4 separate regions of the Homo sapiens genome follow, and regions 1, 2 and 4 are each linked to region 3. The links are contacts of gene promoters, found by promoter capture Hi-C in human tissues and cell types (Jung and others, 2019). All regions are on one chromosome and are shown on one strand. Each heading gives the region's core, a stretch centred on a gene start or on the middle of the fragment in contact. The rest is flanking DNA. Distances are from core to core; before and after follow the strand shown. Region 1 overlaps LOC107987046 (a long non-coding RNA gene). Region 2 overlaps IL33 (interleukin 33). Region 3 holds the start of MLANA (melan-A). Region 4 has its middle 42 kb from the start of IL33.

The links. The method cuts DNA at HindIII sites, captures the fragments that hold promoters and counts their contacts. A contact is called where the count stands out against the background at its distance.
Region 1: a contact is called between a fragment that was not itself captured here and the fragment with the promoter of MLANA in region 3, in 1 of the 25 tissues and cell types used here (dorsolateral prefrontal cortex).
Region 2: a fragment that was not itself captured here is called in contact with the fragment with the promoter of MLANA in region 3 in 3 of the 25 tissues and cell types used here (H1 embryonic stem cells, IMR-90 fibroblasts and mesendoderm cells).
Region 4: a contact is called between a fragment that was not itself captured here and the fragment with the promoter of MLANA in region 3, in 2 of the 25 tissues and cell types used here (H1 embryonic stem cells and spleen).

Annotation. Positions count from the first base shown.
Region 1 is chr9:6,276,901-6,280,465 of GRCh38, reverse strand. The region is part of intron 2 of LOC107987046 (a long non-coding RNA gene); the gene reads left to right. It also overlaps the pseudogene SELENOTP1. Among named protein-coding and RNA genes, the nearest start is that of TPD52L3, 50 kb to the left of the region's middle. The HindIII fragment of the contact is 6,135 bases long and covers 1-3,565 here.
Region 2 is chr9:6,226,530-6,229,778 of GRCh38, reverse strand. The region is part of intron 1 of IL33 (interleukin 33); the gene reads right to left. It overlaps LOC107987046 (a long non-coding RNA gene), which reads left to right. Exons shown (of 3, transcript XR_001746614.2): 3 at 1,484-1,547. Among named protein-coding and RNA genes, the nearest start is that of IL33, 12 kb to the right of the region's middle. The HindIII fragment of the contact is 3,898 bases long and covers 40-3,249 here.
Region 3 is chr9:5,889,487-5,892,980 of GRCh38, reverse strand. MLANA (melan-A) reads right to left here and starts at 2,092. Exons shown (of 5, transcript NM_005511.2): 1 at 2,045-2,092; 2 at 430-531. The coding sequence starts at 506. It overlaps LOC124902341 (small nucleolar RNA U13), which reads right to left and starts at 2,831; the gene lies at 2,725-2,831. It also overlaps a transcript of BRD10 not described here. The HindIII fragment of the contact is 14,558 bases long and covers 1-3,494 here.
Region 4 is chr9:6,171,863-6,175,298 of GRCh38, reverse strand. No RefSeq gene overlaps it. Among named protein-coding and RNA genes, the nearest start is that of IL33, 42 kb to the left of the region's middle. The HindIII fragment of the contact is 3,793 bases long and covers 208-3,436 here.

The DNA of each region.
Region 1 (3,565 bases), core at 579-3,078, 390 kb before region 3:
AAAAAATTATGAAATCTGAAATACTTCTTGTCCCAAGCATTTTTTGGAAAAGGGATACTCAACCTGTACCTTATAACTTCCTTATAACTTTTGGCTCTACCACTTCTATCCCTATATGGAAGCTGAAGTATGTTATTACTGCTGTTACATGACTATTTTTCTACATTGTGGTTCTATTTCTGCTAAATTATTCTTACAGTCTTTATCAATTTAAGTTTTTTAAAAAACTGCCTTTTTAGAACTCTGAAACAGTATTTAAAAATTAAATTAAAAAAATTTTAAGTTTTGTTCATCATATACAATACAATTCTGATATATGATGTTAGACAAATTATTAGCCAGGTAATTTCTGTTCACCTAGTATCAATGCTATAAAGAGCTTCAAGTGAACTTTCTTTAGTGAGATGAGTTTCAATGATCCTAAAGATGGTAAATGAACCATTATTTGTGTGTCTAAAGTGTGTACTCTTAAGAAATTATCCATAAATCAAAAACAAAAATTTAAGCAATTGTTAAATATAATGTTAACAGGAACATTGAGCAATAAATTGAAACTTTTAAATTTAACTCATATCTGCTTAGTTTTTTATTTAGTTAAGTATAAAGGCCCAGTTAATTAATCAATTCATTAGATTGGTCAAGGCATGACACTTGAACTACACAATAGGATTTAAAAAGCAGTTGGTTTTTTTAGTAGTTCTCTGGTAATCACACGCACATACACACATACACAAAAATTTGTAGAGTACTCTGAATATAGGATTTCCCCCATAATCTTGCATCTGCTGTATTTTGTAAACTATATAAACTGGACATGGCCAAATTAGAGATGTCTGATAAACTCTTATAAAGTATTTGGGAACTTCAACTGGATTCCCAAAGGATGAATTTTAAACTATAAAAAACAAATATTCATATAAAAGCACAACAGATTTAACAGACATCTTTGGAAAAAAAATCAAATTGTAACTCAATTTTCTACTTTTTCAAATACGACTAAGGAAAAAAGTTACAAGTAGTAATGTCTACCTTAAAAAAAAACACACATTAACTGGGTGATTGTGTGGGGGGTGGGGAAAGCTATACAGTATTATTGCACTCCATGAATGTGAAGAATTCCAAAATATGCCAGCACGGAAAAGCTATCTTGCATTGAGGTTTTCCAAGAGGTACAACGAGCATGCTAAGAAAGCATTTGGTCTGTACTAACAGCTTGCTCTCTTCAGTACAGGCCTTCATAATGTCAGTCAAGCTGCTCTTGGAATGATCCCTTAATGCAAAAGAGTTTTCAGTGCTGATAGGTGGTGCTATGATCGATGGTGTGGGATTGAATCCATATGCACATTGAGCTTCATTTCATTGTCAAGAATTTGAACAAGCTGTTGCATGGATGGAAGGTGACCGGATTCCAGCTTAGACCACACAGGTACATCATTTAAAGTTATCTCAAATGCACCTGTTGACATACACTGGTTCTCAATCATGTTGCTCAAGAAGAAAACCATCATACATGCATAGACCTTATTTTCTTGGCCCCACTGCCAGATGCTAGGAGCTTGCATGCCAAAGAAAGCAAAAGGATCCTTGCCAACAATTATTAAGCCTATTAATACTAGTTTGAAGACTGACAGGAAAGATGCTATGTGTCTATACATTGGTTGAGGGAGGTAATTCTCTCCTTCAATACGGATGTCTGGGTACCCCTGGCTAGTAACCCACATGTACTCCTCAAACACCCGCCTATAACCTCAGGAAACACAAATCTGGAACTTGAGCAGTGGCCCCGTGGCGTACTGCATCTTTAATCTCGCTGGGCACGCCACCCAGATTGGCCGAGGCCTCGCTCCGGACCATCACAGACACCGCCACTCTCTATGTTTTTTTCAGGGTAACTGTGAAACAGCCTCAGGCAGATTTTTCCAGGTATTCCAGAAAAAGACCTCATTATCATAGAAGGTGACAGTTCTATGTGTGTTATTGCCCCTGAAGAAATTCCAGTGGGACAAGATGTGGAGGTGGAAGACAGTAATATTGGCGATCCTGACTCTGTGTAGGCCTAGGCTAAGGTGTGTGTGTCTTAGTTTTTAACAAAAAAGTTTAAAAAGTAAAAAAAAGAATTAAAAAATTTAAAAAATAGAAAAAAGCTTATAGATAAGGATATAAATAAAATACTTTTATACAGTTGTACAATGTTTGTGTATGTAAAAAGTTATGTACATAATTGCATGTGCTATAGTTTTATATGCCTGGCAGTGCAGTAGGTTTGTTTACACCAGGATCATCACAAACATGAGGAATGTGTTGTGCTAGGATGTTATGATGATTATGTCATAAGTAGGTAATAGGAATTTTTCAGCTCCATTATAATCTTATGTGATACAGTGGTATATATGGTCCATCACTGACTGAAATGTCATTGTGTGGTGCATGACTGTAGTTGGGATCAGAGTATGTAGCCTTTCAGACTAGCTTCTTTCACTTAGTAAGTTAGGGATCCTCCATATTTTTTTGTGACTTAATAGCTCATTCCTTTTATTGCTGAATAGTATTTCACTGTCTGGATTGCCCATTCATCTATTGAAGGGCATTTTGGTTGCTTTTAATTTGGGGCCATTATGAATAAAGCTGCTATAAATGTCCATGTGTAGGTTTTTATGTGGATTTAATTTTTTAACTCAAGTATTTGACTAGAATTTAACTAAGTGTTTGAGTAATTATTTAGGAGCGAAACTGCTGGGTTATATGGTAAGACTATATTTAGTTTTGTAAGAAACTGCCAAATTGTCTTCCAAAGTGGCTGTATCATTTTGCTCCCACCCCCAATGAATGAGAATTCCTGTTGCGCAACATCCTTGCCAGCATTTGATATTATTAGTGTTTTGGATTTTGGCCATTTGAATAGGTGTGTAGTTGCATCTTATTTTAATCATGTTTTCTTTTTAACCATTATATTCTACCACCTCTCACTATAAGCAGCAGTTTGTTTTCCTGTTATTCTAGGCAAACCAAATTCCAGTCCCACTGCGGAATTTAGCATTGTACCAGACTTCAAATTGGTTAATAACAAACAAACAAAAAGACCCTATAAAAACCATTGCACTTTCAGTTCTCTCTAAAAATGTCAAAAGGTTTCACTCACAGGCTAGTACGTGAATTCCACACTGCATGGCATCAGGCCGACTGCCATTCTACTTTAGTTTTTAGTCAGGTTTATTGAGGGATAGTTTTAATACAGTAAAACTCATCATTTTAAAGTATATAGTTTGATGAGTTTTAGCAGTATACGGATGTATAACCACCACCACAATCAAGATATAGGACATTTCCATCACTGCAAAAGGTTGTCCTTTTGTAATCCATCCCTGCCCTAGGCAACCACTACTGTCTAATATAGTGTTTGGCTTTTTAGAATGCTATATAAATAGAATCATAGAGTGTGTACTCTTTTTAAATAATTTTGTTTCATACTAGTTTTTCTAGGGGTTCCATTTTCACCTCTCAGTAGATTTTACATATTTCTCATATGCCTCTGCATTTATCAGTTCATCTAGTTCTGAAGGGTTAC
Region 2 (3,249 bases), core at 739-3,238, 340 kb before region 3:
TTGGGAACAAGGGTTGTGCTTTAGTCATCTTTATTTCCCCAGAAATTATCCACAGCAGGCACTCAGTAAATGTTGTGTAATTTGGATCAGTGCTTACAGAAACCCTATAAACTAAGTAAGGCAGGCATCATCCACTAGACAGATGTGGGGACCCTACCCAAATCCCAAAGATCTGCAGAGCAGTGGAGGTAGATTCCCTGGTTGAGCTGTTATGAAGCTGGCACTACTTCACCATTTTGACTTACAGAAATGACAGTCTTAAATGCCTCAGTCTAATAGAACGCACGTCTTCTTGTTCTTGGGTCAGTGCTCTTTGTAAAGCATTTTTAAAAGCTGACTTTCCAGCTGGCCTGTGGCTCTGCAGTTTTAGTGTGACTGAACATTTCAAATTATTCAGTACAAGTTGTTTTATTCCCCTCCTGGGCCCCCTCCCATGCCTCACATACTTTGAGGGCCCCAGTGGATCAAGTCTGTAGTAATCTTTGAAGAAGCAAAGGTAGATTGGCATCCCCTTCCCAAGCTTAGACCTAGGATTTTCTCCTTTCCCTCAAGTCCCTACAGCTCTCCAGGTCTCAGTTTCCTTGTCTTCAAAACAAGGAGGGTATGTGAAAGCCAGCATTTTCCTCCTTGACTCTTTCCTGTGCTCCTGTACAGGTTCCTCATTTAGCTCATTTATTTCCTTCTCCCAGGGCCCCTTCTATACTGGCAGCTGCACTAGCCCCTTATTCACACAAAGGGTACCATCCTCAGAAAACACACAAATTCTGCCTCAGCCTTGTGATCTCCTCTTCTCCTTTCTACTAACCTTACAGCAGGACAAAATTACAGTGAAAAGAAAAGTCCACAGAGTCTGCAGCATTTTTTGGTTTTTTGTTTTTACTTGTTTTTTTCTTTAGTACCCAAATATCTGAAAGCTGATTTTTTTTTTTTTTGAGTCAGTGTTTTGCTCTGTCACCTAGGCTGGAGGGCAGTGGCATGATCATTGCCTCACTGAACTCCTAGGTTCAAGGGATCTTCCTGCCTCAGTCTTCAAGTAGCTAGGAATACAGGTGTGTGCCACCACACTCGGCTAAATTTTTATTTTTGTAGAGACAGGGTCTCGCTTTGTTGCCCAGGCTGGTCTCGAACTCCTGGCCTCAAGTGATCCTTCCACCTTGGCTTCCCAGAGCACTGGGATTACAGGTGTGAGCCACCATGCCTGGCTGTTGTTTAATGGATTCAGAAAGTTCTCACTGCTAGAAGAAAGCAATGTATGGAAAAAAAAAAACAACATGGAACATAGAGACCTTTGGTTTTAGTTTAACTCTAAAGTTGAGATCATTTTCTTCTTTTACTTTTTAAATGCATTTTACATAAAATTGGACAAGTAATGTAAAAATTCTGAATCTTGTAAAAATTCAAAGGAGTATGAAATACTTAGCAAAAGCATGTAGAGTTAAATAAAAATTCTCCTTTTTTTGTTTTTGTTTTTTATTTGAGACAGAGTCTTGGTCTGTAACCAGGACTGAAGTGCACAGCTGATTGCAACCTTGAACTCCTGGCCTCAAGTGATCCTCCTGCCTTGGTCACCCAAAGTGCTTGGATTAGAGGTATGAGCCACCATGCCTAGCTCTCCTGTATTTTTTACAATTAGCCCTTATATAGTGTTTACTATGTGCCAAGAACTGTACTAAGTGCTTCACATATTTAACTTATTCAATTATTACAGCAATCTTGTTAGGGTAGCATTATTATTATCCCTCTTTTATATATGAGGAAACTGAGGTACAGAGGGATCAAGTAAATGCCCAAGGCCTCATAGCTGAAACCCTAAGCGAACATTTTCAGAGTTCATGAGGTACTTCAGGAAAGGGGTGGAGGAATCCAAATCCGTTGCATTCCAGATCTTCCTCCCTAGCCCCTGCATCCAGAGCAGAAAACCCCTACCTAGAAAGTTTTCTAGGTAGAAGAGGTTTTACTGGTAAGAAAACAAAATTAAAAGTTTGAAAATATGTCATTAGGCCCATTCCACCTGAATTATTTGACCTTGTAAGGAGGGTGATAGACTGAGGCTCAGTTCATATACCATCAGTGGTAGTCAAGCTAGAGAAGATTTAGTAGCATTATAAGGAGAAAGCATTACACTTAATGGTTGGAAGAAGTTTTCAAAACTTTGTAAAGAGTAGAATCCTTTTCTGAAAAAAGAATATTGCATGGAAGCCTAATAGATAACAGAAGACAAAATCATTAACTTATTAATATAAATATGCTTCATAAGTTTACATTTATATTTACTCATTATAAAGTTATTTAATGAAATATGCTGTTTCCAGCATAATAATGGGTTAGTTACCATGAACAGCCCTCCTGATAAAAACAACCAAAATGCTGCAAGATGTATTTTTAAATATCTTTTCAAACAACATTGAGGGGGCATGAATGGGAGGCTAGCAAACTTGGCTTTTTTCTAAAGTTGTCTACTATATCCTAGAGACAAAGAGGAAGAATTACATAAAGAATCAGGACCAGGAGATAAAGCTTAGGATATGTCTAAGATGGAGAGTCTAACAGTAAACTGCTGCATAAACCTGGACTCTCAAAGGGCTACATTCACAATAGAAGGGTGATCAAGATAAATAAACTCGGCAGAAGGGAATACCCAGAAACCTTGTCTGTCTCAACTCCAGCCCTTGCTGGAAGGAAACACATATCTCTAAGAATTTACCTTCTCAGGACAAGTCAGCCCCTACATGGCTTTGTAGTCTGAAATCAAACTACTTGTGTGCTTCCAAAAGCCTGAAATAGAAAATTAAGTATAAAGTAGTTTTAGGTTGGCAGTGCCCCAAGGCAAATACAAGTCTTATCTTGAAGAACTCAGCTGCTACACAAACCACCAAACATTCCCACAGAAAAGTCTTCAGGACAAATGAGTAGTCTGCAGTCAAAATTTGCAAAGCAAACGAGAATACCAGACACCATGGTGAGAACCCACAAAAGGAACAGGTAGCAGAAAGCCACAAAGCCTTTGTGTATTAGAACAAGCAGAAATAACTGATTTTAATATTGTTAGATAGTATTCTAAAAGATTGAAAATATGAACAGTGAACATGTATATTTGAAAAAGATCCAAATAGAATATCTAGACATAAAAGATATATTACTGAAATTAAAACTCAATGGTTCAATTAAACAGAAGATTAAACACAAGTGAAAAGAGTCAGTGACCTAGAGAACATATCTGAAGTATTCCTTAGAATACAATCCAGAGAT
Region 3 (3,494 bases), core at 843-3,342:
GAGTCACACACACCTGCCCGTCATCCTTACTGGCTCCTTGGCAACTCACTTTTATTCTGTCTGCAAACCACCTTCAGGAATTTGAGTGGAGGAGACAGAACAAGGATTGAGGAGAGAGGCATTGTGATCCTGAACAGATGTTTTTCCACTTGGGAACCTACAGATAAGACCCAATAGTCAAAAGTGCACCCAAAAATGGCAAGATCCAACCTTATACCATTCCCATCTTCCTGCCTGTTTGGCCTCAGAGAAGCTTGACTGAGCCCCTTATAGAAGCACAGAATCTCCTCCCCTTGTTGCCAGGGATGTTACTGTCTGGGGAGATAAACACTAGGGAGATTTACGAGCAGGCATGTACTGGTGGAAGTCAGCAGGCTGTGTCAGCAAACGGCAAACTGGAAGCCCTGCTGGGTCTGGTTTTGAACTTACTCTTCAGCCGTGGTGTAAGAGTGGCCGTGCCCCTTCTTGGGGTAACCATAGATGAAGTGAGCATCTTCTCTTGGCATCTTGTAGGGTCAGGGCACAGGACACCTAACAGAAGGAGCATGTGGGCATCATTAATGCATCCAAAGCCACCCTATTCATCATCTCATAAAGACCCACAACAGCATCCTCACTAGGTGACCAATATCCATAGCCAGGACCCTTTGGTTTCTCTCTGTGAGGGGATTTGCACCTGCTTCTTTCATTCATATCAAGGGCTTTAGCAATAGCTCAGGTTTCTAACCCCTCCTACTAACTGAAAATTAAGTTCAAAGAAGAAACTACAAACAAAAGCAAAAAAGACTTGCAAGTTGAGTTATTATTTGGTGAAAAAATATTCCTCATTTGCCTTCAATTTGACTCTGCACCATAAACTTCTAGAGAAACAAACAAAATGCATTTTCACTGATTCTCCACCTTCCCTGGCCCAGGGCTGTGGCTAACAAAATTAGAGGAGTTATTTTTCTCCAAAGTTATTGTTGGATATCAATCCCACAGACAAACAGAGGCTATGATACATAACGTGTGTTTCCCAGAGCACCCGTTGCCTGTGCCTCGCGAGGGTGCATGAGGTTGAGCACTGAGCACAACATCTTCCAGCCCAGCTTTTCAGCAAAGGAAACCACCCCACACAGGGGCTTCAGCCTGTCCCCAGGCACTCCACCCAAAACAAGCCGAGGAAGCCCAGGACCTGACTTTATCTAACAATGTGTTTCCCTTCCTACTTAAGTCAATTTCTGCTTCTCTCTGGTTCAAGTCCCTTGGCTAGGATTCTTTTTTTTTCTAACTATAACACATACAAATGAACAACAAAAAATATCCATAAACTGCAGTGGCCGTAATTCAAGTACGCTCATTAAAAACCAATAATGGAAGCTCCTTTCCTTATTATTGTGTATTTTTCTGCTCTCTTACTGTCCTCATGAATTTCAAAGGTGTGATCCCCATAGAATTATATTAATGAGCCCCAGTTTAAAACAACAGGGAGAGGTGAGACAGAAGAGTGGGGATTTCGACACATGACCCCTTTCCACTGGGACATTTTATGTGTAATTTGCCCTTCCCAGTTGTAAAAAAGAAATGAAAGTCAAACTCACCAGTCCTCTCAAGTGAATAATATAGGACTGAACCCTGTGTTCAAAATGACAGAATGGAATCTTAATTCTTCATTAAATTGTTTTAATACATCCCATACCTCAAACTCAGAGCCTTGGCAAATGGTGCAGCAACAGCAAATGCGCCTCTTACTACTCAGACCAGGAGAAGTGGTTCTTTAAGTGACAGGAGAACACATCTACCTCAGGGAGGCTGCTTCTCCCCAGCAAGATGCCATCCTGAATAATTGCTTTTCTTCTTGGTAGTGTTGGAGGACTGAGAGAGGATTCAGGAGGAGGCTTTGTGAGCCCTCTGAGGTTGGAGACTGACAAACGTTGCGGAGAAATTCTGTTGATGTCACACATCAGCGGGGCAATGAGGGTAGGCAGAGGACTTAGCCAGAATTTCCCAAATCCTATTCTGGGAGAAGAGGACTATGATTATGGCGAGAAGGCAACGCTCTTACCTTCCTTAATGAGAGTCCTCTGTCTGCTGGCTGGCCGCGTGTATGAAGACTGCTTCTCTGGCTCTTAATCGTTTTGACTTATTTTTTTTCCTGGTTTTGAGTCCCATGATAGTCACGGGTTTAGATTTCTGACGGGGTCGTCTGTAATTGCTAAATTGGCATGAAAGAAACCAACTTTATTCCTTCCTTCAAAAAGTCACAGCTGACTGTGGCCTCTGTTTTCCCCAGTCCCAGTGCTCTATCCTAGGGAAGCCATTTATTTTAAATGTTGGTCCCTCCTCCATAGGATTGCCATGTCACATAAAATATGACATGAGCCTAGTTATAATGATTTAAAATTCATGGTCCGACACCACAATTACTTTTGCACCAACCTAATTGATGTCTAAGTAGGTCATATTCTACCTGCAAAAAGAAAATTTCATCTATCCCTTTCACATAGATGGAAACCCACTATCTCCAGTGGACAGTTAACACCAAAGGCATCACAGAGAACTCATGGAGCTCAGCTGAGGAGGATGCCCAGTTAAATTTGAACTTCAGATAAACAATGAACAGTTTCTTAATACAACTATGTCCCATACAATATTTTTAGGATAAATATGTCCACATATTCTATGGGACATATACACTAAAAGAGTTATTTTTTGTTTATCTGAAATCCACATTTGTTTTTCTCATGTCAGATAGGTAAGGTGCCCATGTCATTGTAACAAGGTTTGAGGGAGGCATATCTCACACGTGAACATGGAAACCCAATCATCACGCTTATGACCCACAAAAGGATCTGAAATCCAAACTAAACTGGGTTCCCTATTCCCTCCCTCATCTCCATCTCAAAGGGTTGAAGAGTCTTTAGGCACAGGTCTGGAGAGCATCTAGTCCCAGACTCTCATAATCAAGAAAAGGAAATAGAAAAATCCCTGAAACCTCCTCAGCTGAGCTCCATGAGTTCTCTGTGATGCCTTTGGTGTTAACTGTCCACTGGAGATAGTGGGTTTCCATCTATGTGAAAGGGATAGATGAAATTTTCTTTTTGCAGGTAGAATATGACCTACTTAGACATCAATTAGGTTGGTGCAAAAGTAATTGCGGTGTCGGACCATGAATTTTAAATCATTATAACTAGGCTCAAACACATTTTTTTTTTCTGAGATGGAGACTCACTCTGTCGCCCAGGCTGGAGTGCAGTGGCAGGATCTCAGCTCACTACAACCTCTGCCTCCCAGGTTCAAGCAATTCTCCTGCCTCAGCCTCCTGAGTAGCTGGGACTACAGGTGCACGCCACCACACCTGGCAAATTTTTGTATTTTTAGTAGAGACAGGGTTTCACCATGTTGGCCAGGATGGTCTCGATCTCCTGACCTCATGATCCACCTGCCTCAGCCTCCCAAAGTGCTGGGATTACAGGCATGAGCCACCGCGCCCAGCCTCAAACACATCTTTATTA
Region 4 (3,436 bases), core at 855-3,354, 280 kb before region 3:
CCCTCGCCTTTCTTTTACATCCTCTGGTAAGCACCATTTTAATCTCTATCTCCATGAGATCCACTTTTTCAGCTCCCACATATGAATGAGAACATGCGATATTTGTCTTTCTGTGCCTGGCTTACCAAAGGCCTCCAGTTCCGTCCTTTCTCACTGTCTTCCTTTGTGGTTAAGTGATTTTCTCTGGTAGTATGTTTTAATTCATTGCTTTTTATTTTCAGTATATCTATCATAAGTTTTTGTTTGGTGGTTAATATGAAGATTACAAAAAATTCTATAGTTATAACAAGTTACTTAAAACTGATTCCAACTTAGCTTTGATCACAAAAAAACAAAAAGAAACAAACTAACAAAATAAAACCTTATACATATTAATTCCCCTCTCCTCACACATTTTGAATTTTTGATACTGCAATTTACATTTTTATATTGCTAATCTCTTAATAAATTGTTGTAGTTATTGTTTTTAGTAGTTTTATCTTTTAGTCTTCTTAGTAAAGATTTAATTGATTTACACACCACAATTACAATATTAGTGTAACAATCACATTGGTATCCTTTTCTTTTGGCCTAAAGAACTCTCGTTAGCATTTCTTGTAGGACAGGTCTGGTAGCAACAAATTCCCTCAGCTTTTGTTTGTCTAGGAAAGCCTTTATCTCTCCTTCGTTTCTGAAGAATAGCTTTACTGGAAACAGTATTCTTGCTTTGCAGTTTACTTCTTTCAGCACTCTGAATATATCATCTCACCTCTCCTGGCCTGTACAGTTTCTACTGAGAAGTCTGCTGCCAGGCATTTCAGATCTACCTTATCTGTTATTTGCTTCTTTTTTCTCATTGCTTTCATAATCGCTTCTTTGTCTTTGATCTTTGAGAGTTTGATTGTAATACCTAAGGGTATTCTTATATGGGTTGAAAGTGATTGGTGACCCTTGACCTTCCTGTACCTGGATATTTATATCTTTCTCCAGGTTTGGAAGGTTTATGTTATTATTTCTTTGAAAAAGCTTTCTACCTTCTTGTCTTTCTCATTTCCCTCTTTAACTAAGTAACATGAATGATTGCTCTTTTATTGTTGTCCTGTCATTCCTGTAAGCTTTCTTTATACTTTTCATTCTTTTTTCTCCTCTGACTGTATATTTTCAAATATTCTGTTTTCAAGCTCACTGATTGTTCAGCTTGATCAGTTCTGCTGATCTATTGCATTTTTCCTTTCATTCATTGTATTTTTCAGCTCCAGGATTTCTGGGTTTTTTTTTTTTTAATTATTTTAATCTCTGTTAAATTTCTCTGATACATTTCTGAATTGATTATGTGTATTTTGTAGAAGTCAATCAAGCTTCTTAAAACAGCTATTTTGTATTATTTGTCTAAGAAAGTGCATATCTCTATCCCTTTAGGGTCAGCCTCTGGCACCTTAGTTTTTCCATATGAAGAGTCATATTTCCGTGTGTGTTTTTAATGCTGTGAACATGAAATGATGTCTGCGTATTGATAGGTTAAGTATTTATTTAATATTTTAGTCTTTGTAGTCTAGCTTTCTTTGTGCTTATCCTTGTAGGGATTCTATACAGTCTGACTATTGTTTTCTCTGAGCCTCTGACCTCTGCAGCCATCTCAGCAGTAGAAGATGCTCTAAGTACAGGCTTGCTGCAAGTCTCATGAGGACTATGAGATTGGCACAGCTTTCCAGCCCAGAAGGATCAGGGGAAGACTCAAGGAGGGTACTTGGGCTGTGTGGGAATGCTGGACAGGGACCTGAATCCAGAAGACTGTCCTGGTGGCCAAGATGGATGGCTATCCCCAGTTGGGGACCCATCCCACCTGTGCATGCCTCTCAGCAGGTTTCTGCACATGTGGGATGGGTCCCCACCTGCAGCAAGGGAGGCTGGAGTTGAAATTGGTCCCTCTCAGGATCTGTTATGGGAAGGAAGCTGATGGGCCTATTTTGTTGGCTCAGACAGATATATGTCACCCAGCAGTACCCTGCACAAGCAGGGTAGTTCTTCGACTGCAGCAGGAAAGACCAAAGCTGAGGCTGGACCTCCAAGGGACCTGCTGTGAGACAGACACTGGCATGCTTATCCCAGTGGTTTATATGGGTACGCATCTTCTAGTAGGTCTCTGGATAGATGGGATAGTTCTGTGCAGCAGGGGGAGTCAGAGCGGTTACTAGGGCCCCTCAGGATCTGCTGTGGGACAAGCTGAAGAGCCCTTCTCATTGGCTTAAACAGGTATACATCTCCAAGCAGGTATCAGCATAGATGGGATAGTTCCCCAACTGCAGCAGGATGGAGTGTTGCTGAGATGGGGCCCCCTTGACATCTGCTGTGGGGCAGAACCTGGAGAGCCCTGTCTCATTGGCTCAGAGAGACACATTCTCCCAGCAAGTTTCTGTAAAGATGGAATAGTTCCTTGGTTGCAGTGTGAGAGGCCAGAGCTGAGACTGGGCCTCCTTGGTATCTGTTGTGGAACAGAGGTTTACAAGCTCTAGCCTGTCTGAGAGGCTCAGACTACTGGGCTGCAAGTTATGGGCAAGTCTCCCTCTGGATCCTTATGTAAGCAGCTCTGAGCTGGGACCTCACCTGAGGGGGCTGGAGCAGAACCAGAGAGCAACGTTCAGATTGACTGCCAACACGACTGTCAGTGGGTAGATGAGCCTTTCTATTAGTGTGCACAATTCCTTCTTGACTCCTCGGCAGATGGCTTTGGTTGCAGGATCAAGGCCAAGTGGGGTTGTATCCAAACCCCTTGGGAGACTGGGTCATTTTCTGGCTTGAACCCAGGAACAAGCTTGGTGGATCAGCCACCTATGTGTAGGTCTTCCCTCTGCAAATGATCCTCTGATGTCTTGGACTTCACTAGGGTTTCACAAACTCCTACCTCAATCCTGAGGCTCCTGCAGAGTGACTTTTTACCATGGATGGATGCAGAATTCTTATAGGGAGATATGAGCGGGTTACCTTCTATTCTGCCCTCTTGTCACTTCATTTTTATATGATATATTTCTGATTTTATTGGATGAGGATCAGAGTTTGTGGTTTTAAAAATCTTTACTGTTTTATATTTTAATGTTTTTTGCAGCAAATACAATTTTTGTACAAATCATGGTCATATAAAATATATATTGTCAATTCTAAGGATATATGCATTTATTATATCAAGTTTTGTTTGTGTTATTGTGAAAATAAGTAATTCAAAGTCAAAGCTGTTGGAACTCTAAATTATTGTGAGCCTTAAAAAATGTGAATTATGAGGCTTGAGTCACATCACAGGCTGCTGTAACCTAGGCAGCTAGAACCTTTTTTCCTCTAGTTATGGGTGAAAGCTTTTCCCTTACCTGCATTGTTTTGTAAAATGTTGTAAATGGCTGAAGGATGCCAGGGAAGACCCTCTTTCCTCTACACTATCGACTTTCATTAAAAATTAACCTCCCTC